Linked DNA regions of Homo sapiens: all the other regions are linked to region 6. Evidence: promoter capture Hi-C in human tissues and cell types (Jung and others, 2019). All regions are on one chromosome and are shown on one strand. The core of a region is centred on a gene start or on the middle of the fragment in contact, and the rest is flanking DNA. Distances in the headings are between cores, read along the strand shown.

The links. The method cuts DNA at HindIII sites, captures the fragments that hold promoters and counts their contacts. A contact is called where the count stands out against the background at its distance.
Region 1: a contact is called between a fragment that was not itself captured here and the fragment with the promoter of CELF4 in region 6, in 1 of the 25 tissues and cell types used here (H1 embryonic stem cells).
Region 2: a contact is called between a fragment that was not itself captured here and the fragment with the promoter of CELF4 in region 6, in 1 of the 25 tissues and cell types used here (dorsolateral prefrontal cortex).
Region 3: a contact is called between a fragment that was not itself captured here and the fragment with the promoter of CELF4 in region 6, in 2 of the 25 tissues and cell types used here (dorsolateral prefrontal cortex and mesendoderm cells).
Region 4: a contact is called between a fragment that was not itself captured here and the fragment with the promoter of CELF4 in region 6, in 4 of the 25 tissues and cell types used here (H1 embryonic stem cells, lymphoblastoid cells, mesendoderm cells and 1 more).
Region 5: a contact is called between a fragment that was not itself captured here and the fragment with the promoter of CELF4 in region 6, in 3 of the 25 tissues and cell types used here (H1 embryonic stem cells, hippocampus and mesendoderm cells).

What each region holds. Positions count from the first base shown.
Region 1 is chr18:37,780,133-37,784,315 of GRCh38, reverse strand. No RefSeq gene overlaps it. Among named protein-coding and RNA genes, the nearest start is that of MIR4318, 130 kb to the right of the region's middle. The HindIII fragment of the contact is 3,779 bases long and covers 1-3,541 here.
Region 2 is chr18:37,764,690-37,768,815 of GRCh38, reverse strand. All of the region lies in intron 2 of LOC105372073, which reads left to right. Among named protein-coding and RNA genes, the nearest start is that of MIR4318, 110 kb to the right of the region's middle. The HindIII fragment of the contact is 4,812 bases long and covers 258-4,126 here.
Region 3 is chr18:37,385,107-37,389,111 of GRCh38, reverse strand. The region is part of intron 2 of CELF4 (CUGBP Elav-like family member 4); the gene reads left to right. Among named protein-coding and RNA genes, the nearest start is that of SNORA111, 79 kb to the left of the region's middle. The HindIII fragment of the contact is 8,601 bases long and covers 1-4,005 here.
Region 4 is chr18:37,797,001-37,801,213 of GRCh38, reverse strand. No RefSeq gene overlaps it. Among named protein-coding and RNA genes, the nearest start is that of MIR4318, 140 kb to the right of the region's middle. The HindIII fragment of the contact is 8,755 bases long and covers 1-4,213 here.
Region 5 is chr18:37,713,506-37,717,432 of GRCh38, reverse strand. No RefSeq gene overlaps it. Among named protein-coding and RNA genes, the nearest start is that of MIR4318, 58 kb to the right of the region's middle. The HindIII fragment of the contact is 5,321 bases long and covers 1-3,927 here.
Region 6 is chr18:37,563,121-37,567,365 of GRCh38, reverse strand. CELF4 (CUGBP Elav-like family member 4) reads left to right here and starts at 1,568. Exons shown (of 13, transcript NM_020180.4): 1 at 1,568-2,010. The coding sequence starts at 1,725. It overlaps LOC124904288 (a long non-coding RNA gene), which reads right to left and starts at 1,089. Exons shown (of 2, transcript XR_007066345.1): 1 at 977-1,089; 2 at 678-787. RefSeq lists an enhancer at 1,521-2,024. The HindIII fragment of the contact is 29,207 bases long and covers 1-4,245 here.

The sequences.
Region 1 (4,183 bases), core at 403-2,902, 220 kb before region 6:
TCTATTCTATCCTATTCTATTCAGCCCCAGCTCTTGGGACAAAAACTTCTCTGTAGAAACAAAAGTCTTCAGGCCACATTGGCTCTGGAAGGAGCAGTTCCCCTGTGGTGGTTTTTGTTTGTTTGTTTGTTTGTTTTTTCTTTCTTGTTCTCCTTTCCACCGTGCGAAAGGAGCCCACTTATAAGCAAATTTACAACACAAGCTGGAAATCCAATCTCTCAGGCAAGAAAAAGCTGGATTTTAAAATAACTCAGGAAGGTGGAATTTGAGAAAGGAATAGCTGCAGTTTTGATCATGTGTCAAATCTGCAACGGCTGAGTGAACTCCGGGAGCTGCCTGGTACTGCCTGGCTCTACGGGCTCTGAGCTGAGCAAGAGGTTGGCAGGTGGTGATGGAGACAGGGCAGGACTGCTGTAGGCAGCTCTGATGAGGAGGCAAGGAGAAGGCTGGGGATATGGCACAGACCCAGTTTTACCTCCAGAGATGCCTGCATCATTCTGTCATGATCCAATAAAACATGGACCTGGAAGAGCCATGGTTTGTAAGGCAGCAAGCAGCTACCTGTGCGAGATCTAGGCCTAAAACACACAGCAAGACTGAATCCTCTAGCAGTGACCAGCTCAGGCTGGAGGGTATAAGCAGTTGACACCACAGAGCTGCTCTGATAATGCCTGCTTTGCATGGGAAGCCTGAGAAGCCACCAAGGGTAAATAATCCACACACAGAGTCCCAAATCTGCCACCATTGTGTTTCTAAGGTGTCCCATTTCCAAAAGCTAGTCCTAGCACAGTGTCACAGTTGAAGGTGGACTCCTCAGCACCATGCACACTCTCTCCTCCACCTCCTAAAACTAAACTGTGTCTATGTCTACAGGAGGCAAATCTTCCAAACGCTGAGCCTCAGGACCGAGTGTCATTGTGACAAACAAGTTTTGAGAGACTTCCCCATGCAATTCAGTAGGTTTGAAGCCCCAAGACCACTAAGAATCCCAGGACATTGGCTAATGCCACTGTTCCTATCTTCAAGAAAGATATCCTCTGCTACTGGAAAGCTAATTATCCTTCAAAGTTAATGTTTTCTTCCACCACAAAGCCTTCTCTAAACAAGCCAGTCAAAACTTGATTTCCTAAAGGGCATTGTCTAATACTTAGATATGACTTTTTTACCTAACAAATAGCAAAGATAAAAATACCCAGTCCTGGCAAAAATGAAGGAAAATAAGAAATGCACTCATTGGTCCATTTCTCTAAAGGCCAGGTCAGCAATGAGTATAAAGTAGAGAATGTATATACGCCTGAACTTGGAATTCCTCTTGAAGGAGCTTTTCCCACAGCAACATATATCTATAGGGATGTTCATTGAAAGCCAACCCATATTGAGGGTAAGTCTGGAGACAGATTTCCTAGTTCTGGTTCCTGGCTCTGGCACTTAGAAGCTCTAAAATTCTCTGAACTTCGGTTTCTGCTTGCAGAGTTGATGTAAAGATTAAGTTACGTAATACATGTAGCCTGGTACATCATGAAAAACCAATAGCTTTCCTTTTTTGTTATTTTAATTCAAATATTTTAAATAAACTCATATTACCACCAGTAGGATTTGATTAGCTACAATGTGATTGATCTACACAATTGAATACTACACAAGCTTTCTATTTCTTTTTTTTTTTTTTTTAAAGACAGGGTCTCGCTCTGTCACCAGGCTGGAGTGCAGTGGTGCAATCACGGCTCACTGCAGCCTCAAACTTCTGGGCTCAAGCAATCCTCCCACGTCTGCCCCCTGAGTAACTGAGAGTACAGGCATGCACCACCATGCCTGGCTAATTTTATTTTTTCATTTTTTTGTAGAGACAGAGTATTTCTGTTTCCCAGGCTTGTCTCAGACTCCTGCATTCAAGCAATTCTCTCTCCTCAACCCAAAGCACTGGGATTACAGGTGTGAACCACTGCACAGGCCTATGCAAGCTTTTAAAAAATAAAACTTCTATGTACATATTGAATCAAAAGAAAAAATCAGATTCAAGAGAGCCCATGCATGTATGTGTGGGTCTATTTTTCTGCTATGCTTTGAATATGTCTCCTTAATTTCACGTGTTGGGAACTTAATCCCAAAATTAACATGTTGATTGGAGGTGGGGCCTTTGGGAAGTAATTAAGATTAGACAAATCATCAGAGTGGAGACCCCATGATGGAACTGGGGGTTTTATAAGAAGAGAAAGAGGCCTCAGTGGACACGCATGCATGCACGCTCCCTCATTCTTGCTATGTCATACCTTCCACCATGTTATAATACAGCACAAAGGCCCTCCACAGACGCCGATGCCATGCTGTTAGATTTCCCATTCTCCAGAACCATGAGTTTAATAAACTTCTCCTCTTCATAAATTTCTGTGTAGCAACAGAAAATGAACTAAGACAGCCTTTATGTGTGTATGTGTCTGTATGGTTGTGGGTGCGCGCTGTCTAGTGTGTACATATGTAATGTGAGTCCTGTGTGTAAATCTATGAGGTTTGTGTGTCCATGTGGGTTCTCTGTCTTTGTCGGCAGTGTGTGCATATGTGTGAGCTTTGTGTGTATACCGTCAATGTGTGTGCAAGAGATCTGTGTGTCAGTGGTAATGTGTGTGAAGTACATGTGTGTACTGTATGTGTGTGCTTTGTGTGTATACCGTCAATGTGTGTGCAAGAGATCTGTGTGTCAGTGGTAATGTGTGTGAAGTACATGTGTGTACTGTATGTGTGTGCATTCTGTGAGTGTCTGTGGGTTGTCTGTCTGCAATGTATGCATATGAGTTCTGTGTATGTGTGGTATATTTGCATGTGTGTTCTAGGTGCATGTGTGGTATATTTATAAGTTCTGCATGTGTGGTATATTTATATGGGAGTTCTGTGTATGTGTATGTGTATATGTGTGTGTGTCTCTACAGGGTGCACTGCGAGTTCTGTCTGGGGGAATGTATTTTCATGTGAGTTCTATGTGCATGTGTGGTATATTTGTGTGTGAGTTCTGTGTAGTGGTGTATTTATGTGGGAGTTCTGTGTGTGTGTGTATGTGTGTCTATAGGGTGCATTGTGAGTTCTGTGGAGGGATGTATTTACATGTGAGTTCTGTGTGTGTGTCTGTGGGGTGCATATATGAGCTCTGCAGAGCAGTGTATGTGTGTGTGAGCTGTGTGTGTCTGTGGAGTGCATGTGTGAGCTCTGTGGGGTGGTGTGTGTGTGAGTTCTGCGTGTGTCTGTGGGGTGCATGTGTGAGCTCTGTGGGTAGTGTATGTGTGAGTTCTGTGTGTGGTTGTGGGGTATGTGTGTGAGCTCTGTGGGTGGTGTATGTGTGTGTGTGTCTGTGGGGTACATGTGTGAGCCCTGTGGGGTGGTGTGTGTGTGTGTGTCTGTGGGGTGCATGTGTGAGCTCTGTGTTGTGTGTGTGTGTCTGTGGGGTATATGTGTGAGTTCTGTGTGGTGGAGTATGTGATCCCTGTGGGGTGGTGTATGTGTGTGTGAGCTCTGTGTATGTCTGTTTGGTGCATGTGTGAGCTCTATGGGGCAGCATATGAATGTGTGAGTTCTGTGGGGTGGTGTGTGTGTGTGAGCTCTGTGTGTGTGTCTGTGGGGTGAGTGTGTGAGCTCTGTGGGGCAGTGTATGTCTGTGTGAGTTCTGTGTGTGTGTCTGTGGGGTGCGTGTGTGAACTCTGTGGGGTGGTGTATGTGTGTGAGTTGTGTGTGTCTGGGGGTGCATGTGTGAACTCTGTGGGGTGGTGTATGTTTGTGAGTTCTGTGTGTGTGTCTGTGGGGTGCATGTATGAACTCTGTGGGGTGGCGTATGTGTGTGAGTTCTGTGTGTCTGTGGGGTGCATGTGTGAACTCTGCGGAGTGGTGTGTGTGAGTTCTATGTGTCTGCGGGGTGCATGTGTGAACTCTGCGGGGTGGTGTGTGTGAGTTCTGTGTGTGCGTCTGTGGGTGCATGTGTGAACTCTGCGGGGTGGTGTATGTATGCGAGTTCTGTGTGTCTGAGGGTGCATGTGAGAGCTTTGTGGGGTGGTGTATGTGCATGCATTCTGTGTGTATGTCTTCAAGTTGTGTTTGTGTCTGCATACATAGCCAGTATCAGAAGCTGAGTAAGAACTTCGGTTCTGAGTGAGAGGAACCTGAATTGGATTCCTGCTCTATCACATAGTATTTCACTCTG
Region 2 (4,126 bases), core at 1,414-3,913, 200 kb before region 6:
ATCCAGCCACATCGGACTCTTGGAAAATTTTGAACTGTATAAACTCTTAACGTGTCCTTCCTCCTACAGTCTTTGGTGCTATTAAACAAAACTAGAGCCAGACAGTAGTTAAAGCAGTGAAAACAGATTTCATTCAGGAACTACAGTGATAGGGGAAAAGAGACCTCAATATAGAACTGGGCTCAATTTTGAATATAGCAAGGACAAGTGGGGATTTATAGCCAAGGAGCAGGGTGGGTGTGAAAGGTAGGTGGTTGGAAAATTACTAAGAAGAGACATCAAGGGTAGGGGAATTCTTTCTAAACTAATCTAACGAGATCTTTGCTGAAGGCAAGTCTGGGTGATCAGATATCAAGGATGGAAGATGAAGAATTTAATCAGATATCAAAGGTGGTCAGATGTGGAGCTGGAGAAGCCCTTCCCAAACTTACTTAGTAGGATTCTTTTTTTTTTTTTTTTTTTCTGAGACGGAGTCTTGCTCTGTTACCCAGGCTGGAGTGCAGTGACCCAATCTCGGCTCACTGCAAACTCCACCTCCCAGGTTCAAGCGATACTCCTGCCTCAGCCTCCCAAGTAGCTGGGATTACAGGCATGCACCACCACACCCAGGTAATTTTTATATTCTTAGTAGAGATGGGGTTTCACCATGTTGGCCAGGATGGTCTCAATCTCTTGACCTCGTGATCCGCCCGCCTCAGGCTCCCAAAGTGCTGGGATTACAGGCGTGAGCCACTGCACCTAGCCACTTAGTAGGATTCTTGATAAAACTGATCTATGAAAGTTCAGTAAAAATTGGAGCCAAAGTCTAGGCCAGTTGAGAAGAGGTCTCAGGGGAGCCTTATCAAAGTCTGATCAAGGAGAGAGTCTTTGTCAGTGGTAAAATAAAACAAAAGAGGGGATTATTATAGCAAAGACTAAATTTGTATGTGGAAATCTAATCTCAAATGTGAGAGTATTTGAAGGTAGGGGCTTTGGGCAGTGATTAGGTCATGAAGGCAGAGGACCTCATGAATAGGACTAGTACCCTTATATAAAAGGCCCCAGAGAGATCCCTTACTCCTTCCACCATGTGAGGACATGACAGAAGAGGTGGCCATCTATGAACCAGGAAGCAGGCCCTCATGAGACACAAAATCTGTTGACACCTCAGTCATTGTCTTTCAGCCTCCAGAACTGTGAGAAACACATTTCTGATGCTTATAAACCATCCAATCTATGGTACTTTGCTATAGCAGCCTGAATGATCTAAGACAGAAAATTGATACTCAGAAGTGAGGTACTGCTATACCAAATACCTAAAAATATGGAAGCAGCTTTGGAACTGGGCAATGGGCAGAGGCTGGAGAGTTCTGGGACACATGCCAGAAAAAGCCAACATTGTTGTAACAGATCTTTAAGGGCAATTCTAGTGAGAGCTCAGAAAGAAAAGAGATCTGTAGAGAAAGCCTCAATCTTCTTAGAGAATATCTAAGTAATTCTGAACTGAATGATGGTAGAAATATGGCTGGTAAAGGCCATTCTGATAAGGTCTCAGACCTCATCAGAAATGAGGAACTTATTGGACAATAAAGGAAAGACCATCCTTATTATAAAGTGGCACAGAACTTGGCTGGATTGTGTTCATGTCTTAGTGTTTGGTGGAAGATAGAACATGCAAGCAACAGAACTGGAAATTTGGCGGAGGAAATATCTTTAAAAGTATTGAAGGAGTGGCCTAGTTCCTTTTGACTGCTTAGAGTAAAATGTGAAAAGAAAGAAATGACTTACAAACAGAATTATTAATCAATATGGAAACTGAACCTAAAGAATTGGAACATTTTCAGAATATCTGCATTGAAAATAATGAGAAAGACTACTCAGGAAAGAATACTAAGGGTGTGGCCAAATAACTGTCCAATAGAGATTAGTCAGTCATCTCAAAAGAAGCTACAAAAAAAAAATGCAGAGGAGTATCCACCTGCATTGCCCAACACTGCCTCACATCACTGGCTTCACTCCCCACACTGCAACTCCAAGCAATTCAGCCACCCCAAATTGTGGCTTCAGTGGGCCCTAGTCGGGGTTACCCTGTATCCAGCAAAGCTTTGGGGATGTGGTTACCTCCACCTAGATTCCAGAGGATGAGCTGACTGGAGCTGCTGGCATGGAACCCAGGCAGAGGGCCACTGAGAAGTTTGGGACCACCACAAATATACCCCATTAGGGCAATGCCCAGCAGAACTGTGGGGGTGAGTCCCCCTAGAGACCCTACACCTGTAGAGCCTCCAGCATACAATCGCAGCCTGGAAGAGCATCAGGCACACAACTCCATCCCATGAGAGCTGTGGCAGAGGCTGTGCCCCAAGCTGAGACAACAGGGCTACCCAGAGCCTTGGGGGCTCAACCCATGTCCAACAAAGCTGCAGAGGCAGAACTGCTGTCTCAGTCGGTCTAGAAGACAGAACCCCCACCACCGTATGCCTAGAGAGCAAAGCATCAAGCCAAGGAGACTTAAGGCATAATGTAATTTGCCTGTTGGGTTTTAGACTTGCTCAGGACCTCTTCCTACTTTCTTCTTTCCTATTTCTCCCTTTTGGAAGAGGATTGTCTATCCTATGTCTGTCCCTCCATTGTATCTTGGAAGCACAGGACATGTTTGATTTCACAAATTCACAGCTAGAGAGGAATTTGCCTCAGGATGACTCATATCTTGAGTCTCACCCACATCTGAATTAGATGATATTTAGAAGATAGTTTAGACTTTGGGCTTTTGAATTGACAACATGTGAGAAGTACATTAATTTTGAGGGGCCAGAGTGAAATGCTATAACTAAATATTTGCATCTCTCCCAATGTATGTGTTGAAACTCTATTCCCAATGTGATGGCATTTGGAGGTGAGGCCTTTGGGAGGTGATTAAGTGACTTAGAAATGGGATTAGTGCCCTTATAAAAGAAGGCCCAGAGGGATCTCTCACCCCTTCAGCCATGTGAGGTTACAGTAAGAGGACAGCTAGCTATGAACCAGGAAGCGGGCCCTCACAGAACACTGAGTCTGCAGGCACCTTGATCTTGGACTTCCCAGCCTCCAGAACTTTGAGAAATAAATTCCTGTTGTTTATAAGCTACTCAGTCTACAGTACACTGAAGCCCAAATGGACTAAGATAACCCCTATACTCTTAAGTGTCCCAAACAGCAACAGGTGAGTGAGGAGGTGTTTGGTTGGAGTCCTAGGTGGGAGAGGCAGGCTGGGTAGCAGGTGATCCAGGAGCAGTGGTACACCTGGACCCTGGACTGCCCTGGCCTGCTTCAGAAGGCCACTCCTGGCTGAGTGTAGCCCCAAATTCCATTTTGCTTGCTTGCAAGGCAAGGGATAACTCTGGCAAAAAGGTTAACTAGTCTAATCACAGCAAAGGTCAGGACCCCAGTGATGGAAGCAGACTTTTCCTGCAAGAGTGGAGGACATCTCCATAGGAGAAGCAAACCGAGGCACTCTGATAGAAAGGCTTTTATGTTATAGGGTTTGAGTTTCCTTTTTTCAACCTTCCAGGAAAAAAAAAAAAGTAGTCAAGAGGCTGTCAGGCAGCTCAGTGTCTCCATTAGAATTCAGAGTATTCCACGGTAATTACAAAACAGCTGTAATGGAAAATTGGTAGTCAAACCCATTTTCCAGCGACTAGAACGGTGAATGGGCTCCATTATGTTCCTAATTCTCATTAACTTAATTTGCATAGGAAATAATGAAGGAATACATAATGAGGTACAGTGGGCAAGCAGCCCAGCCCTGGCCCCCACGGTGCTGGGCTCAACCCACAGTGACCCACCCCAAGGGAGGGAAGGCCAAGTGCTGCTGTTGGGCTGGACTCCACTGGGCAACCTGAGGCTGCTGCCCTGAGCTAGTCCAAAAACTAGCGAGGTGGAGGATGACTGCTTGCCTGTCACTTGCCCAGGATCACCTTGCCTCAGCACGCCCAATGCAAATCCTATTTCTTCTCTCCACTTCCCTCCCCTACTCTTGGTAAGGCTGAAGAACTGGAGCAGAAGGAGGAGGGAACTTGTTTTCGGGTAAGCAATTCCAGGCTTTGGCTGTGTGTGCACGCATGTTTCTCCCTACAAATCTGGTTTTAATTATAATTGGCCCTGGCAA
Region 3 (4,005 bases), core at 740-3,239, 180 kb after region 6:
CCCTCATTTCCTCTGTGTTTCTTCTCACTTTAAGCCAACCATCAGGAACTTGGGGTGGGGGCTAACTCCCACCCTGTTTCACCAGGGCAGGACCCCAGTCTGTTCATGAGGTGCTGGGTGGTGCCTCCGAGAGCCTTCACTGGAAGCCTCAGAAAGAGCCATCAAGAGGTGCACAGGAGCACCCAGGAAGTCCCTGGTAACTAACCGATGGATGACATGGCCCAGGTCACCCTTCAGGGCACTGCAAAAGGTCTCCTGGACAAGAGGGTCCAGGGTGACAAGGGCTGAGGTGCTCCAGGCAGAAGCAGAGGGTGTCGGGGCTTAGACTGGAAGGGCATGCTCGGGAGGCATCCTCAGCATGTTCTGTGGAGGCTCTGGGAGGCCCCCTACTCCCATGTAAGTTGGACTTTTTGGCTTCTCCCTCCCCACCGCACTTATTGCAATAACTACTTCTCGTATGGCCCATTATGCTAATGAATGACAGCAGCAGACCTAGAAGGGTGTTTGCTGCTGTCTTGAGCTCATTAGTAACCGAGAAATGCAACAGGAAAGCTAGAGAGGGCATGACACCAGGTTTAACCAGGGCCAGGGCACCACTGGCCTTGGGGAGGGAGAGGAGGAAGAGGAGGAGGATGGGAGAGACTGGAGGAGGAAGACAGAGAAGAAGGAGAGAGAAGGAGGGGGGAAAGGAGGAGAAGGAGGAGGGAAGGGAGGGAAGAGGAGAAGCAAAGGGCAGAGGGAGACAGAGGAGGAGCTGGGAAAGGAGGAAGCGTCAGAGTGCAGTCAGAGGCCACAGGTGGCCTGTTTGGGGAGAAGGGACAGTATTCCCTACCCCATCTCTTCACGCAATGGTGCATGACTTCTGGCACCATTAGGACCAAGCCTGACAGATGTGCTGAGCTTGGCATTGAAGACCTCAGCCTCACCTTTCTTTTTCCCTTTAGAGAAGCCCCTCTCACACCTCAGGTGATCCCTCCTCTCTCCCCTCAATGAAACCTGCCCCAAAGGATTTACCCAAATCACACTGCGCTGTACAGTACCCTCCCCCCTCCCCCAACTCCTGCCTTCCACCGAGTGTGGCATTAAAGCAGGGACAATGACAATAAAGGCCACAGAGGGCCACAGAACCTCATCAGCTGGTGGGAAGGAGGAGGGTCTGGATGAATACTAGGGAGAAAGCTGGCTTCCCCCAGCCCCAGGCCAGGTGAGATGAGGCCCTACTTTCCTCTGTTCTGATGAGAGAGTGCAGGGGGCTCCCTGCCCTTGGCTCCTTCGCCAGGATTGGGGATGCTGTGGGCCAGCACCAAGATCTACTGGGATTACAGCTGGAAGGAGCAAAGGGTCAGACTGGAAAGCAGGACATGAAGATCTGCTCAGGATGCTGCAAAACAAAGTCCCACCCGCAGAAGGGCTGCTAGGGTACAAGGAAAAACCTGCAGCTTCAGCCAGCCCTGGACTCTTCCACCAGCCTCCTGAGGCCAGAAAAAGCCCCAGACCAGAGTCCTCAACTTTACATCGAGACTCTGGGTTTGTCCAAAGGAGTTGGAAGAAGCAACTGAATTCAGTCCTCTCGGGGTGGAGACTGGCAAGCCGGACTCAGCTGGGCCCAGCACGAGGTGGGCCCTGGATCCTGAATCTCCAGGATTGAACAACAGCCTCCCGTGAGAAGAGGGGCGCTGGAGGTCAAGGAAGCAGTTGGCTGCGTGTGGTTCTGGGTATCCAGGCCTCATCCCACCAAGGCAGAAGCCAGCCAGGGTCCCAGGGCAGGTTGTGAGGGCCCCTTGCTGCTCTGCTGGTTTGGGGAGGGAGCAAGGCCTGGCCCAGAGGCATGGGTTCAGCTTCACCATGGGGTTCAGTTGGCCCAGCCCCCCACTCGGGATGGCCCTGGTTGCCGGGAAAAGGCAGGGAGGAAGGGGCAGCACAAAGTAATGCCCAGGACAAGGAACCAGGGGAACTTGGGGGCCATCTGTCTCTTCTTACTGCTAGAATCTGTACCATGGGCAAGGATCAAAGCAAAAGCCCCACATCCTCCACTGAGGCCAGCCGGGGCTGGGGAGCCGCCTCCACAGCGCAGCAGGCTCAGCCCCGTGCGTGCCGTCTCTCTATCGCCAAGAGAGCCCCAGGACCAGTGAGAGGCACAGTCCATCATTTCTGCCTGCCAGTGGCTTCTTCTTCAGGTCACTGAGAGAGAGTACAAACTTGTCCTACAGAAGACAATAACACCTTTTTAATGCTAAGAGAATTCACAGAGCCCCACTCTGTACATACCCTGAGGTATGAGAACAAAGTGAAGAGGTGAACATGCAGTCAAGGGCTTCTTCTTTGAAACCCTAGAGAGGAAACTATTTAGGAAAAGAGAGACTATTTAGGACCATAACAGTTAAAGATTATTGAGAAAGGGACTGAATTGTACCTAGGTGTTTTTTCTTTATAGGCTTGTTTTAGAAGACTTTCCAATCTCGTTTAATGGCACCATGTTCAAGTTAATTTAATTCAATCAAAAGTTCTATTTTGACTTTTTCTAAGGATAATTAGTGGGGAAGCGTGTGTTCTCACTCTCAGTTAATGGCACCATCATCTAGACAGTCTTTGAGTCAGTACGGCTCTCCGCCTCACTCTCCTCATTCCCATCAGCTGGTTCTCCCTCAAGCTGGTTCTCCCTCAAGCTGGCCTCTCCACACAGCACTGCCTTCCCGTCTCTCCCCACGACCGCAAGGTATCCTCGCTCAGCCTCCTACCACTGTAAGCCACCACTCTCACCTTATTTCCTCCTTACTTACCTCATTCTGATGTTGCCACCTCTGTAAAGGCTTCCTCTTCATTGAGTTAATTATTCCTTTCTCTAAGCTTCCAGAACACTGTTTATTTCAACACATCACATAATAATTGTCATCCTCTTTGTACATCTGCAGGTCCACAGAGCAGACATTCTTTAGGGGGACAGCGGGGTATGTGCCTGGAATATAAGAGTAGGCAAATTAAGGTGGCAGAAGAGTGAGAAAAATCAATACATTCATTCATCATCTCCAGGTAATATGCCCAAAGCAAAAAGAATATACCAAGGTAGATTCCACCACCTGGTGGCCATATTTAGAATTGCAAGTTTAGTTTATTTGGATTAAATTAATTCTTAAATCTAAACTTTTGAAGTTTCAATAAATGTCACACTTGAGCACTATGAGTGTAGTATCTGAAAATAACAGCCTTGTCATTTCACAGACTTATATGAAGGTAAAATGTGTTAACTGATGAAAGTACTTTGGAAAATCAATAAATACATATTGAAAATAGTCCACATGTGGGGTCTCTGCCAGGTACTGTGGAGCAGAGAGCTCCCATGTAGATGGGAAAACAGGATTCGCACTTGAAACCACTAGAGAAACAAAACTGTAGGTGTGTGGCACAATATCATAGAAAAAGCATTCTGGACAGGAGGTCAGGGAGGGCTGGCTCCATGCCCAAGGCAGGGTTTGCAGAATGAATCAGGTTAGAATAAAGCCAGTAGGCAAGAGGGTATTGTGGGCTGGGGGAGGTGGAGGGGAGGGGAGACATTGGCTCAGTTAACTACTGGCCTAATTGACTACTGACTAATTGATTAACCAGGTGGCATGGACAAGCTAAGATGGGGAGAAACTACAGCCAGTAGCAACCCCTACTTCCCTTGACATGCCTATCATTGCCACCACCACGGCATTAATCTAGTTAGAGGTGATCACATTTTCTTTCTTTTCTTTCTTTCTTTTTTTTTTTTTTTTTTGAGATGGAGTCTTGCACTGTTGCCCAGGCTATAGTGCAGCAGTTTGATCTCCACTCACTGCAACCTCCGCCTCCCGAGTTCAAGCGATTCGAGATTCTCCTGCTTCAGCCTCCGGAGTAGCTGGGATTACAGGCACATGCCACCACACCCGGCTAATTTTTTATATTTTTGGTAGAGATAGGGTTTCACCATGTTGGCCAGGCTGGTCTCGAACTCCTGACCTCAAGTGATCCACCCGCCTCAGCCTC
Region 4 (4,213 bases), core at 836-3,335, 230 kb before region 6:
AACACCATACATTTACAACCATCTGATCTTCAACAAACCTGACAAAAACCAGTAATGGGGAAAGGATTCCCTATTTAATAAATGGTGATAGGAAAACTGGCTAGCAATGTGCAGAAAACTAAACTGGACCCCTTCCTTACAACTTATACAAAAATTAACTCATGATGGATTAAAGACTTGAATGTAAAGCCCAAAATCATAAAAAACCTAGAAGAAAACCTAGGCAATCCCATTCAGGATATAGGCATGGGCAAAGATTTCATGATGAAAAAGCCAAAAGCAATTGCAACAAAAGCTAAAATTGACAAATGGGATCTAATTAAACTAAAGAGCTTCTGCACAGCAAAAGAAATTATCATCAGAGTGAATGGGCAATCTACAGAATGGGAGAAAATTTTTGCAATCTACCCATCTGACAAAGGTCTAATATTCAGAATCTACAAGGAACTTAAACAAATTTATAAGAAAAAAACCACCCCATCAAAAAGTGGGCAAAGGATATGAACAGACACTTCTTAAAAGAAGACATTTATGTGGCCAGCAAACATATGAAAAAAAAGCTCAATATCACTGATCATTAGAGAAATGCAAATCAAAACCACAATAAGATACCATCTCACACCAGTCAGAATGGCAATTATTAAAAAGTCAAGAAACAATAGATGTTGGTGAGGCTGTGGAGAAATAGGAATGCTTTTACACTGTTGTGGGAATGCAAATTAGTTCAACCATTGTGGAAGACAGTGTGGCAATTCCCCAAGGATCTAGAACCAAAAATACCATTTGACCTGGCAATCCTGTTACTGGGTATATACCTAAAGGAATATAATCATTCTACTATAAAGACACATGCACACATATGTTTATTGAAGCACTGTTTACAGTAGCAAAGACATGGAACCAACTCAAATGCCCATCAGTAATAGACTGGATAAAGAAAATGTGAGGGCAGGCGCAGTGGCTCATGCCTGTAATCCCAGCACTTTGGGAGGTTGAGGAGGGTGGATTACTTGAGGTCAGGAGTTTGAGACCAGCCTGGCCAACGTGGTGAAACCCTATCTCTACCAAAAATACAAAAATTCACCAGGTATGGTGGCGGGCACTTGTAATCCCCGCTACTCAGGAGGCTGAGGCAGGAGAATCGCTTGAACCCAGGAGGCGGAGGTTGCAGTGAGCTGAGATCGCACCACTGCACTCCAGCCTGGGTGACAGAGCAAGACTCCATCTCGGAAAAACAAAACAACAACAACAACAACAAACGAAAATGTGATACATATACATCATGGAATACTATGCAGCCATAAAAAGGAATGAGATCATGTCCTTTGCAGGGACATACGTGAAGCTGGAAGCCATCATCCTCAGCAAACTAACGCAGGAACAGAAAACCAAAACCAAACACCGCATGTTCTCACCCATAAGTGGGAGCTGAACAGTGAGAACACATGGACATAGGGAGGGGAAAAACACATCCCAGGGCCTGTCAGGAGGTGGGGGGTGAGGGGAGGGAGAGTGTCAGGACAAATAGCTAATGTATGCAGGGCTTAAAATCTAAATGACAGGTTGGTAAGGGACAGCAAACCACCATGGCACACGTATACCTATGTAACAAAACTGCACGTTCTGCACATGTATCCCAGAACTTAGAGTTAAAAAAAAATAAAGTAAAATAAAAAAAGTCCTGGCCATTATTCCCAAACCTGGGTGCGCAATGTTCCTTGGAGAGGTGGGCAGACTAAATGCAGATCCTGGAGTTTCACCTCCAGGGATTCTAGCTCTGCCACTCTATCCTGAGTCTCAGGAAGCTCAAGTTGATTAAAACGCCCATCTTAGTCTGTTTTGCACACCTATAACAGAATACCTGAGACTGGGTAATTTATGAAAAACAGAAACTTATTTTATCATAGTTCTGGAGGCTGGGAAGGAAGTTTAAGATCAAGGCACCAGTAGGTTTTGTGTCTGGTGAAGGTCCAGTCTCTGCTTCCAAGTTGACATCTTGAAGTCTGTGTCCTATGGACAGGAGGAATGCTATGTCCTCACATAATGCAAGGCAAAAGGGCGAAAAGGGATAAACTCCCACCATCAAATACTTTTGTGAGGGCACCAATCCAATTCACGAGAAAGGAACCCTCATGGCCTAACTACCTCTTAAAGGCCCCACTACTTAATACTACCACATTGGCAACACCTGAATTTTGAAGGGGACACATTCAAACCACAGCAATGCCTATGGTCCTAGGAACTCATTCAGAGAAACTCTATTCTTACTAATATAGATCAGAGAGGAGAGGCAAGTGTAGACTGTAGGCAGGGTTCACAGAAGTAGCAGATTTGAACTACCCCTTGAACTAGGCCTTAGAATATGGATAAGAAAATCTCCCAACTTACCTGTTTCCCTCGACCAGGCCTTCATGTTTTACCAGCTGCCTAATCTCCTGTAAGAAAGTGTTCACTGAGGATTTACATGGATCCTGGGCTCCGTTCACTAGACCTCACCCATCCCACTCAAGCACCATTGAGTCTGTTTCTAACTTAAAATGAGACCCACCCTATTGCTCAACTTCAAGGAGCAACACCTGCTTCCTTTGTAATCCAATCCACGAAAGGGCGGAGCCATGGAGAGGAGCTTTCACTAGTGCATAGCTCACACAGGGGTGACTCCAAAATCACAAAACATAAGACTGAGATATGGGAGCAGAGAAAATGACTACTTCCATGATATGGTCCCAGAAGAGGCTTTTTACCCTCATCTAGAGAGATAGGTGAAATTGCCAGGCCATAAGCCAGCTGCAGGGCCAGCCCCCATTGCCCCTTATTAGCACGTATCTAGCACACGTGGATTATTTAAGAGCGTCAATTAAAAGTCAGGGTATGTGCTCTATGTATTTGAATCTGCAATAATCCAGGCCAGAGGACCTTTACCGATGACAATGTTGGAAGTTATTTTTTCTCTTGTGAATTTCCAGGATCTTGGAAATACGGAAGCAGTCTAAATTCAGTCACTTGGGGATTTCGATGGATTGATTAGATTTTTTACGGATCAACATGTAGTCTCTTTGAAGAACTGTCCCAGGACTCTAAGGCAGCAGAATTGTCAAACTGACAGTCTTTGCTCCTCCTGAAAGGAATTTTGTCTGACCCCCTTTTGACTGTCTTCCATGCTGAGCGATATATCCAGAAATTCAGAGAAGCATAATCTATGTCCTTTAACCAAAAAAGAGGCTAAACACACAAACCCATGGAAATCCTATCCTTGCAGCCTTTCTTCCAAATGCAAAGAGTGCATAAGAGTGAAAAACCTCCTGCTCCTAAGATGCTTCTCTAGAGGCCTGGCTTCTTCGTAATTCCCAGAACTTTTAGCCTAGGAAAAACTTCAGGCTGACAAGGGGAGAAACTGAATTCCTCTACAATTTTCCCATGAGATACCTTAAAAATTGCACTGTAATCCCAGATGGAGCAGAGTGGATCCAACAAGCCCTGCAGGTGGCTTTCCCCTCACCTGGTTAGGGAGCCCAGAACATGTCCCATAACTTCTCTGGGCCTCAGTTGCCCTTCAGACAAAAGAGGGTTAGACAGTCCTCATGTCTACCCCAGAAGACAGTAAGTCAGGACATGATTAAACACATGTCTCTTATAAAGGTACTTGGAAAAAAGTCTAATAAGCTCTATAAACAGAGAGTGTCTCCACATTTTCAATGTTCATATTGCCTTTAATGTAGACACCCAGTCTATCCTGGGGGTGGGGAGTGAGGAGCGACATTTGGCAACAATTTACACTACAGATAAATACACCCACCTTGACATTTTCAAAGCCTGGCTCAGAAGAAAAAGTCCCTTTTTTCCCTGAAGCATTAAGAGAAAATGTGCATGATTATCATCTGTCTAAAAAAAAAAAAAAAATGAGGAAAGAAAGAGGGAGGGAAAAGGAATACAGCTGAAGTGACACCGAGAAACTCACCATTTTATTCTGCACAATTGAACTTCATTAATCATAGAAAATCAGAGATGGAAAAGACCTATTAGGTCACCCCATCTATCCCTCTGAAAGCATTAAAAGCTTTCAAATGAGACAGAAATCAGAGGTCCTGACTGCTGATGGCCATTAAAGACAGTTTTTGTGAAGAAAAATGTTAACCTTCGTGTCTCTGACAAATTACACTCTGGGTGGTTACAGGCTGCCTTTGCCAGAGCGCCCCAGTTCTGGGGTTGGAGA
Region 5 (3,927 bases), core at 1,281-3,780, 150 kb before region 6:
ATGACTCTTATGGACGCTAATATCTGATGATTAACAAGGGGCAAAATGAGGCATTTGGCACAGGGCAAGAGCAATAAGTGAAACGTTTCCACTGAGACAGATCCTGCCTGACTCAGCCTCAGGGCACCAAGAACCAGGCACCTCTCTGGATTGCTGCCCATCTGACAGCCAGAGATGGCTCCCAAATGAAGTTTGCTCATGGAGGTCTTCTACCAGGGACAAACCTTTGCATGGGTGAGCAGAAGCCTGCAGCATACATATGATTTAAGAGTCATCATGATGTACTGCTGGTCTCAACTATGCCTCCACAATCAAAGTTTCCATGATTGGAATTCCCCCGTAGGCACCACAAGGGTTGAGGACATTGTCTCAAGAAGTCCCATAAAAGGGTACTCACTTGGGACACCAGAGAAAAGGGTTGTCCTGGGCCATTCCTTTAGGAAGTTCCCAGACTCATGGTTTTTAGAAATCCTGCATCAGAATACTAATGGGTAGCACTTACTAAGTGTCTGCTAAGTGCCATGTCTTTTAGCCATATTACCTAACTTAATCTTCACTGTAATATAAGACAACCGGTAATGTTACCCCCATCTCACAGATGAAGAAACCGAGGCACAGGGAGGTTAGATAACTTCCCCAAGATCATGTAATTAATTTGTAGGTGCCAGAGGAGGGATTTGAACCCAGGGAGCCTTGTGCCAAAGCCCACTCTGCTCTACTTCCTCTAATCATACAGGATAGTATTAAAGTGGAAACTCTAGGGCGGGACCAAGGAGTCTGCATTTGAATAAGCTACACAGGTCACTTTTATGCATTCAAAGTTTAGAAAATCAGAATATTGTGTGCCTTAAAAAAAACAGCTGCTTCTTTGGAACTAACTCTGTTATTTAGCTTATCTCACCATGTAGACTTTGCACTCCTTGGAGAAGCAATGTTTTCATTCTTAACACTTGCCTCCCCGACCCTCCAGCCTCCTTAGCACAGTTCCAGGTGTGGAACTCAGGCAATACTTATTAGTCCGGGGAGAAAGCTCTGAACACAAAGTCTGAAAATCAAAACTTGTATTCCGGCTCTGTTATTTAATTTGCCTAGGCAGGTCTCTGCAACAGATTTAGGCTCAGCATTCCCATATGTTCAATGGAAACAATGTCAAAAAGAGATTTTAAAATACTAATTTTTGGCTGGATGTGGTGGCTCATGCTAGTAATCCCATTACTAGCATGGATTACTTTGGGAGGCCAAGGTGGGTGAATCACTGGAGGTCAAGAGTTAGAGACCAGCCTGGCCAACATGGTGAAACCCCGTTTCTACTAAAAATACAAAAGTTACAAAAATTAGCCAGGCGTGATGGCACATGCCTGTAGTCCCAGCTACTCAGGAGGCTGAGGCCAGGAAATTGCTTGAACCTAGGAGGCAGAGGTTGCAGTGAGCCGAGATGGCGCCACTGCACTCCAGCCTGAGTGACAGAGTGATAATTAAAATAAAATAAAAATAATAAATAAAATACTAATTTTAAAAAAACAACTATCTTGTATTAGTTGCTTATTCTGTGATGGGTTCTACACCAGGACCTTTGGCATACATTGACTCTGATCCACAGGGATCTTCAAGGTAAGTTTTATTATTCTCATGTTACAGATAAAGAAACAGGATTTCAGAGAGATTGGGTTGTTTGGATAAGCCTGCACAGCCAGCAATGATGGGAAAAGCCTTCTTACCCAGGTCCCTTTGATTCCACATCACACGCTCTTTCCCCGACACCACCCAGTGTGATCAGCCTTTTCTCTATCCCAGGGACATAATGAGAGTCAAATGAGATCACAGACATATCAGTCAGGTTGGGCTGGGCTACGCTGTGATTTAAAAACAGCTCCAAATCTCAGTGGCTCAAAACAGCAAACATTTATTTCTTGCTCTCACTACGTATCTATCAGGAGTCAGCAGGGTGTTTCTGTGCAGCACAATCACTCAGGGACCTAGATGGAGCAGCCTCCATCCTGAGTGTTGCTCAAGAGAAGTAGGGCCAAATATTACAGGCACATTGAAAGCTTCTGTGTAGTACAATGAGCTGTACATCACATCTACTCATATTCCATTGACCAAAAGAAGTCTTGGCCAAGCCCAGAGTCAATGGGATGGGAAAGCATGGCAAAGGCAGAAAGGAAACAATAATTGTGAGCAAATATTTAATCTACATAGAAGACCATGGATGTACAGAAGGCTTTGGAAGGTACTCAAGTGAAACAGCCTGAAGTATGCTTTCTCCCATGGAGGCATGGTCGTGGGCCCCATGGCTCCAAGCTGAGCCTCCACATGCTGCAAATCTATGGATATCTCCCCTGTTACCAGGAATCTAATTATTACTCTGCTTTCTGCTCAATTATTAAAGACAAGGCAGTGAAGAGCCATGGAAGAGGAGAAAAGTCTGTTTTGCAGCAATGACAAACCATATTTCATATGCATAAAGGGGAGAAATAAAAGAGCATTGCTTTTACTCTTATAATTGCAATTTCCTGCTCGTTTCCTTTTCAAGTTAGTGGATCTAATTGTTTGGTAATAAAATATCTGCATAATATATTAGAGGCAGAGAACAGACGGGCTTAAGGGACAGTTGCCAAGAACAGGAGGGAGAGAAAAGATTGAACAGAATCAGAGTGTTCAAAGCTTGTGGGGTTTTCGTAAAATGTATACCAGGTTATTCCTGCCACTCTCCCTGCCTGACTCTTAATGGAAGCAAATGAATGGTCCAGACAAATCAGTAATCTTGACCTAGCTTAAAATTCATGTCGGTACCAGGTTCAGAACAGAAAAGGAGACAGAAAGTGCAAGAGACAGAGTGCACAAGAGAGAGAGTTCAGTAGGAAAAAATGACTGTGGTGGAGAACAACAGTTTTGAGATCATGCTTGGATTGGATACCAGCTCCACCACCCATTGGCTGTGCCACCTTGAGAAGATCATTAACCTGCCTGAGCCTCCATTCGTTCATTTGTGAAGTAGGAATAAAAAGATACTCCATCTCAAGAGTTGGTGCTCCATAAAGAGTAGCTATTCATATTATTAGAAAATTAGAATAGGTGGTTGAAGCCCTGCAGAGGGGATGTGATGGGCTGCAGGGGTCACCTTTGGCAAAATATCAAAACTGGGGAAAATGTTCTTTGTTGCCTTCAGTTCAACCATTAGCTGCCCTTTCCTCCATCTTGGTGCCCTGCTCCCCTACCTGCCCCATTTTTTCAAGGCCTAGCCCACTATCCTCAGGTCAATGTTGTCTGATGTTTACCATGGTATTAATGACTACCAAGGTGCTACCTGATAAAGAAATCCTGAAGGCGGCCATTGTGGAGGAATGAACAGCTCCTGGACTGGGGATGTGCTGCCGCCTCCTGCAATACACTGTAGAAGCAGCCACTGTCATTAATGCCTGCCCTAATTGAGTGGTTGGACCCCATAGGTGAGCCCTAAATTGGGAGCCATGGGAGGTTAGAAATTAAACAGTAGATTCAGTCTGTAACATCAGAAGCCTCTCAGACTGGTGGCAGGAGAGGCAGCTAAGTCTAGTGTGGAGGTTCTGAGCTCCCTGGGAAGTCACCCTACTGTCAGTGTGAGTTCAGGGACTTGGGGATCCTCCACTCCAAGGGAGAGCCCCTCCAGCTGCTCACAGGGGCTCCCAACCTTGACATAAGAAGTGATTTCCTTATTCAGACAATGGTGAATCAGATGCCCCATGCAAAGTATCCTCCATGCACCCTGGAATTTCACTGGCTGATTCTAAGGGGAGGGAGACCACCAGCACCATTGTAAGGAAGGTCACAGTGAGGGGAAGCAGAAGGCAGAATGCTGGGGAAGAACTTCTGGGTTCATCCCTGAATGCACCCCAGGGAAGGTGAGCCATGCCAGAAAAGAGGTCACAGGAAGTTGTTCCACAAAAC
Region 6 (4,245 bases), core at 319-2,818:
GATGCCAGCCCCAGTGGGCCTGGCGGGGAGTCCGGCGGGGTCCGGACCGGGCGGCTCGACCCCCGGTCCCCACGGCAGGAACGACTCAGCCTCGCACCTCGGGAGCTGTAGGTGCCGAAAACGAAACCCGCGGGGGCAGCGCACGCCGCGCGAGTCTCGGTCCGGCGGCAACCCAGATAGCGATTCAGGGGCTTTATTCTTTTGATGGTGATTAAAAAAATATATTCTATTTGAACCCGTAAAGCAGACGAGGGCAAATCAAGCCATCCCCCGCGCTGGCTCACCGGCCACCGCGCCCAGCGCCTTCCTCCCCCTCCGGCGGGCGAGCGGGCAGGGGCGCCCGACTCCTACCTTCCTCCCGCCAGCCACCGGGGGACCAGCCGCGCTCTCCGGGGCGGGGGAGGCCGCCCGGGACGGGGACCCCCACCTTCCGCCTTCGGAAGCGGGTTGGGGCGGGGGTCGGACCCCGAGTCTCTACTCCCCGTCCCTCTGCCCCCCGGCGCGGCCCGACAGCTCCCAGCCCCATCCTGGCAGGTGGCTTGGGTGGCGGTAGATGCCGGGCGGGAGGAAGATGTGGGGCTGCTCTGGCAGGTTGGGGGTGCGAGGAGGAAAAAAAAACAGAGAAAGACACACACAGAGAGACAGGGAGAGAGCGCGCGCGAGAGAGCTCTTGTCTATAGATTTATCCACATAATATATATTTATGTAGCTTTTTTTCTCTCGACACTGATGAATGCGCGCTCGGATCCCCGGGCGGACTCCCTCCAAGCCGGCTCGCTTTTCTAGTCTAAATAAATAAATAAAGCCAGATGGAAGAAAAAAGCGCCCATTCCACCTCCGCCGCCGCCCCGCCCGCCATCCCTGCCTTTGCTTCGCCCGCCTGGCGCCCTAATAGAGCATAGCTTGGTGGATAAAGCCCCCCTACATACCCACACGAAAATAAAAATCACTATTTTTAAAATACAAAAAGTTGCACCTGCTGCTATTACAAAAAGAACCCCCAAAAGGCAAAGAGAGGAGGCCGGCTGCCCGGCTCCTCACGGACACCCGCTCCCCGCGGCCGCCGGGCCCGGAATCTCAGCGCCTCCCGAAGAGCCATGCGCCTGGCGCTATTTATAGCCGGGGGCCGTCTCGGACTGTACCATCGCCACGGCGCGGGGCCGCCGACGGGGGAGGCGCGGTGGCCGCCGCCCCACGCCGCCCTGCCCCCGGCCGCCGCCCGCCGTGGCGCGGGCCCCCACAGCGCGCCCATTCCCGGCCCCCCGCGCCCTCCTCCGCGCGCGCACACTCGCCACCCCCACCCCTGGTCTGGCTGGGAACTTGAACCGGTCCAGCCTGTTTAAACGGAAAGGACAGAGATCCTGTCTGTTCAATGTAAAAAAAAAAAAAAAAAAAAAAAAAAGAAAAAAAGAAAAAAAAAATCAGATCAGACCGAGAGAGAGAGGAGAGAGGGAGAGAGAGAGGGAGAGAGAGAGGGAGAGAGAGAGGAGAGGGAGGGAGGGAGAGAGAGAGGGGGGAGAGCAGAGAGAGAGCGCGAGCGCGAGCGAGCGAGAGAAGAGGAGAAAGAGAGAGAGCAGAGAGCGAGCGGAGAGCGAGGTGTAGAGAAACCGAGGGGGAGAGAACCCGAGTGTGTGTATGCGTGTGCGTGTGTGAGCGCGAGCGAGCGAGAGAGAGGAGCGAGAGAGTGTGAGCGAGAAAGAATAAAAGGAAAGAAGATTTTCTCTATGTATATAAAGATGGCCACGTTAGCAAACGGACAGGCTGACAACGCAAGCCTCAGTACCAACGGGCTCGGCAGCAGCCCGGGCAGTGCCGGGCACATGAACGGATTAAGCCACAGCCCGGGGAACCCGTCGACCATTCCCATGAAGGACCACGATGCCATCAAGCTGTTCATTGGGCAGATCCCCCGCAACCTGGATGAGAAGGACCTCAAGCCCCTCTTCGAGGAGTTTGGCAAAATCTACGAGCTTACGGTTCTGAAGGACAGGTTCACAGGCATGCACAAAGGTGAGTACACCTTTCCCTCCCAACTTTGCCGGGGAGCAGGAGCGGGCTGGCGGGCCGACCGGCCGGCCGGCGACTGACGAGCGGCGGACTAAGCGAGAGGAAGCCTCGGGCGGGCGCGGTGGAGGGAGGCGCTCGGGCAGCGGAGACCAGAGCTGGGGTGCGTGGGGAGCTGTTCGCTGGGGCAAGACTGGGTTTTGGGCGAGGTGCTGATAGGAACGATGCCATGGAGAGAGCAGCGGGCGCCGATGAAGAGAAAGAGAGAGGGGATCGAGGAGACGGGGCTTGGATTTTTGGGTACAGCGACCTGAAAGATGGGGATGGGGAAGGCTGCACCGGTCGAGCCCAGGACGCTGAGCGGACGGACTCGCGGGCTCCTGGCCGGCCGAGGACCGAGGGTGCTGTCCATCGCCGTGGTGCTGAAAATACTAAAGGAGGTGGTCTCCTCATCCTTTGCTCCGGGCTAGAGTAGCAGGAGCGCAGCCGTCTAAAAGGGAGAGAGGTGACAAATTCAAAGAGAAATTTTTATTTAAATGTAACAGTAAACTCTCCCTGTCGAGCTGTGTGCCTCAATAATCTGATTGTGGTGTGAATGGTGGTGTGTGTTGGGGGTGGGGGGGTTGGATGTTTGAAGGAACCAGTGATAAAACCTAAGGCAAGAATTAGCAAGGAACCAGCCATCCCCTGGGTGGAGTGGGGGGTCTGGCAAGCCTGGATAGTCCCCTTCCCAGGAAAGCGGGGCTTTGGGAAAAAAATATGTGTGTGCGAGATTTGCATTTTGAAAGGTGTACCCTAATTTATCCCAAACTCACCATGCAGAGAGCTTTATAGTACATTATTTCTCCCTTGAAGCGATCATTGCCAGTGAGTGCTTGGGGGAGGGGGAGACAGAATAATCAAAGAATTAAAACACAGCAACTTTTTAGGAAAGTGGTCATGGGAATTGTCCGCAGCCTGCCTGTTTTCTCCTTGTTTTATTATCTTTAAAGCAGAGCCCCAAACGTGTTCAGTTGTAGAATGTGTGTGGGTGGCTGGTGGGTGACGAAATTAGCCCAGTGCTCCGCTTCCTAACAGTAATATATAGGATGTGCAGCGGGAATGAATCGGTGCTGGATCTATGTGGGCAAGTTAAATGCTTTCTGAGAGAGATTGATCGCCAGGCAGGGAAGGAGCACGGGGCTAAGGAAGTTGTAGGGGATGTGTATGGATGTTCCGTTTTTAATAAACAGTAGTGTGGAGAGCCGCCGAAGATGCTGTTACAGCTGGTGGTTTTAAAGATGAAAACACACGCACACCCACCCCCACATAGAGAGCAGCCTCATCCTTGGCCACAAATGGGCTATGGACACAGCTGATCCTCCAGCACATTAGGTGCAGAGCGCAGAGCTGTCTGGCTCTCTAAGCAGCAGCGATTTTCACTATCACAACCACCCTCTTTCTCCAGCCCTCCCTTCGTTCGAATACTAAACAGAGCTCCAAACTCTTCATAGTTGGAGTCCCAGAGAGCAGTTTTTATTGGCTTTAGTATCTTCCAGCTTGCCTGCTGAGGAGTAAATCTTAAAGTTAATGGCATGTTGAGTAACACAAAAACACAGCAGAATGGAAATATACTGGGTTTGTTGGGGTGGGGTGAGGGTGGGGGCTGTAATGGAGAGAGAAGGCAACCTTTATCCAATATGGAGAAAATGTCTGTCTGTTCAAAAGAGAGATTGGAAAGGTGGAACGGGGAGGCAGCCTTCAAAATAATATTCGAAGAAAAAAAGAAAACACTTTCTTTTTCCCCCCCTCCCTCTCAAGTCAACCATATCTTTGTAGTTTTTCCCCTTCCAATCAAGCTTCCTAGAAGCTAATCAAGGTTTGTATCAAACCTTTGTTATTCTGAATGTCCTCATTGTAAAAAATAGTAATAATAAAAATTTTGAAAGCATAGGTAGGGAAGTCTTCTGCTCATCTTAATGATCAGTTTTTATGGTGATTTAAGATTTTAAAGTTAAAAAAATCAGAACTCACTAGAGGCAAAAGACAGTTATGAGGAGCTGGGCTTCATATGGCATCTGGATTAAAGCACTTTATTTGCTTCTTCATTTCAAATGAAGATAAACTTTAACAATATTCCTTGGTTTCTTTTCTACAATCCCTGATATCATCACTTTGTTGCTGATGTAATTTGGACTCTCTCATATAATAGCAAAGAAGTAGAATTTTCATCATTTGCATTAGGGAGGTAGAGAAGGTTAT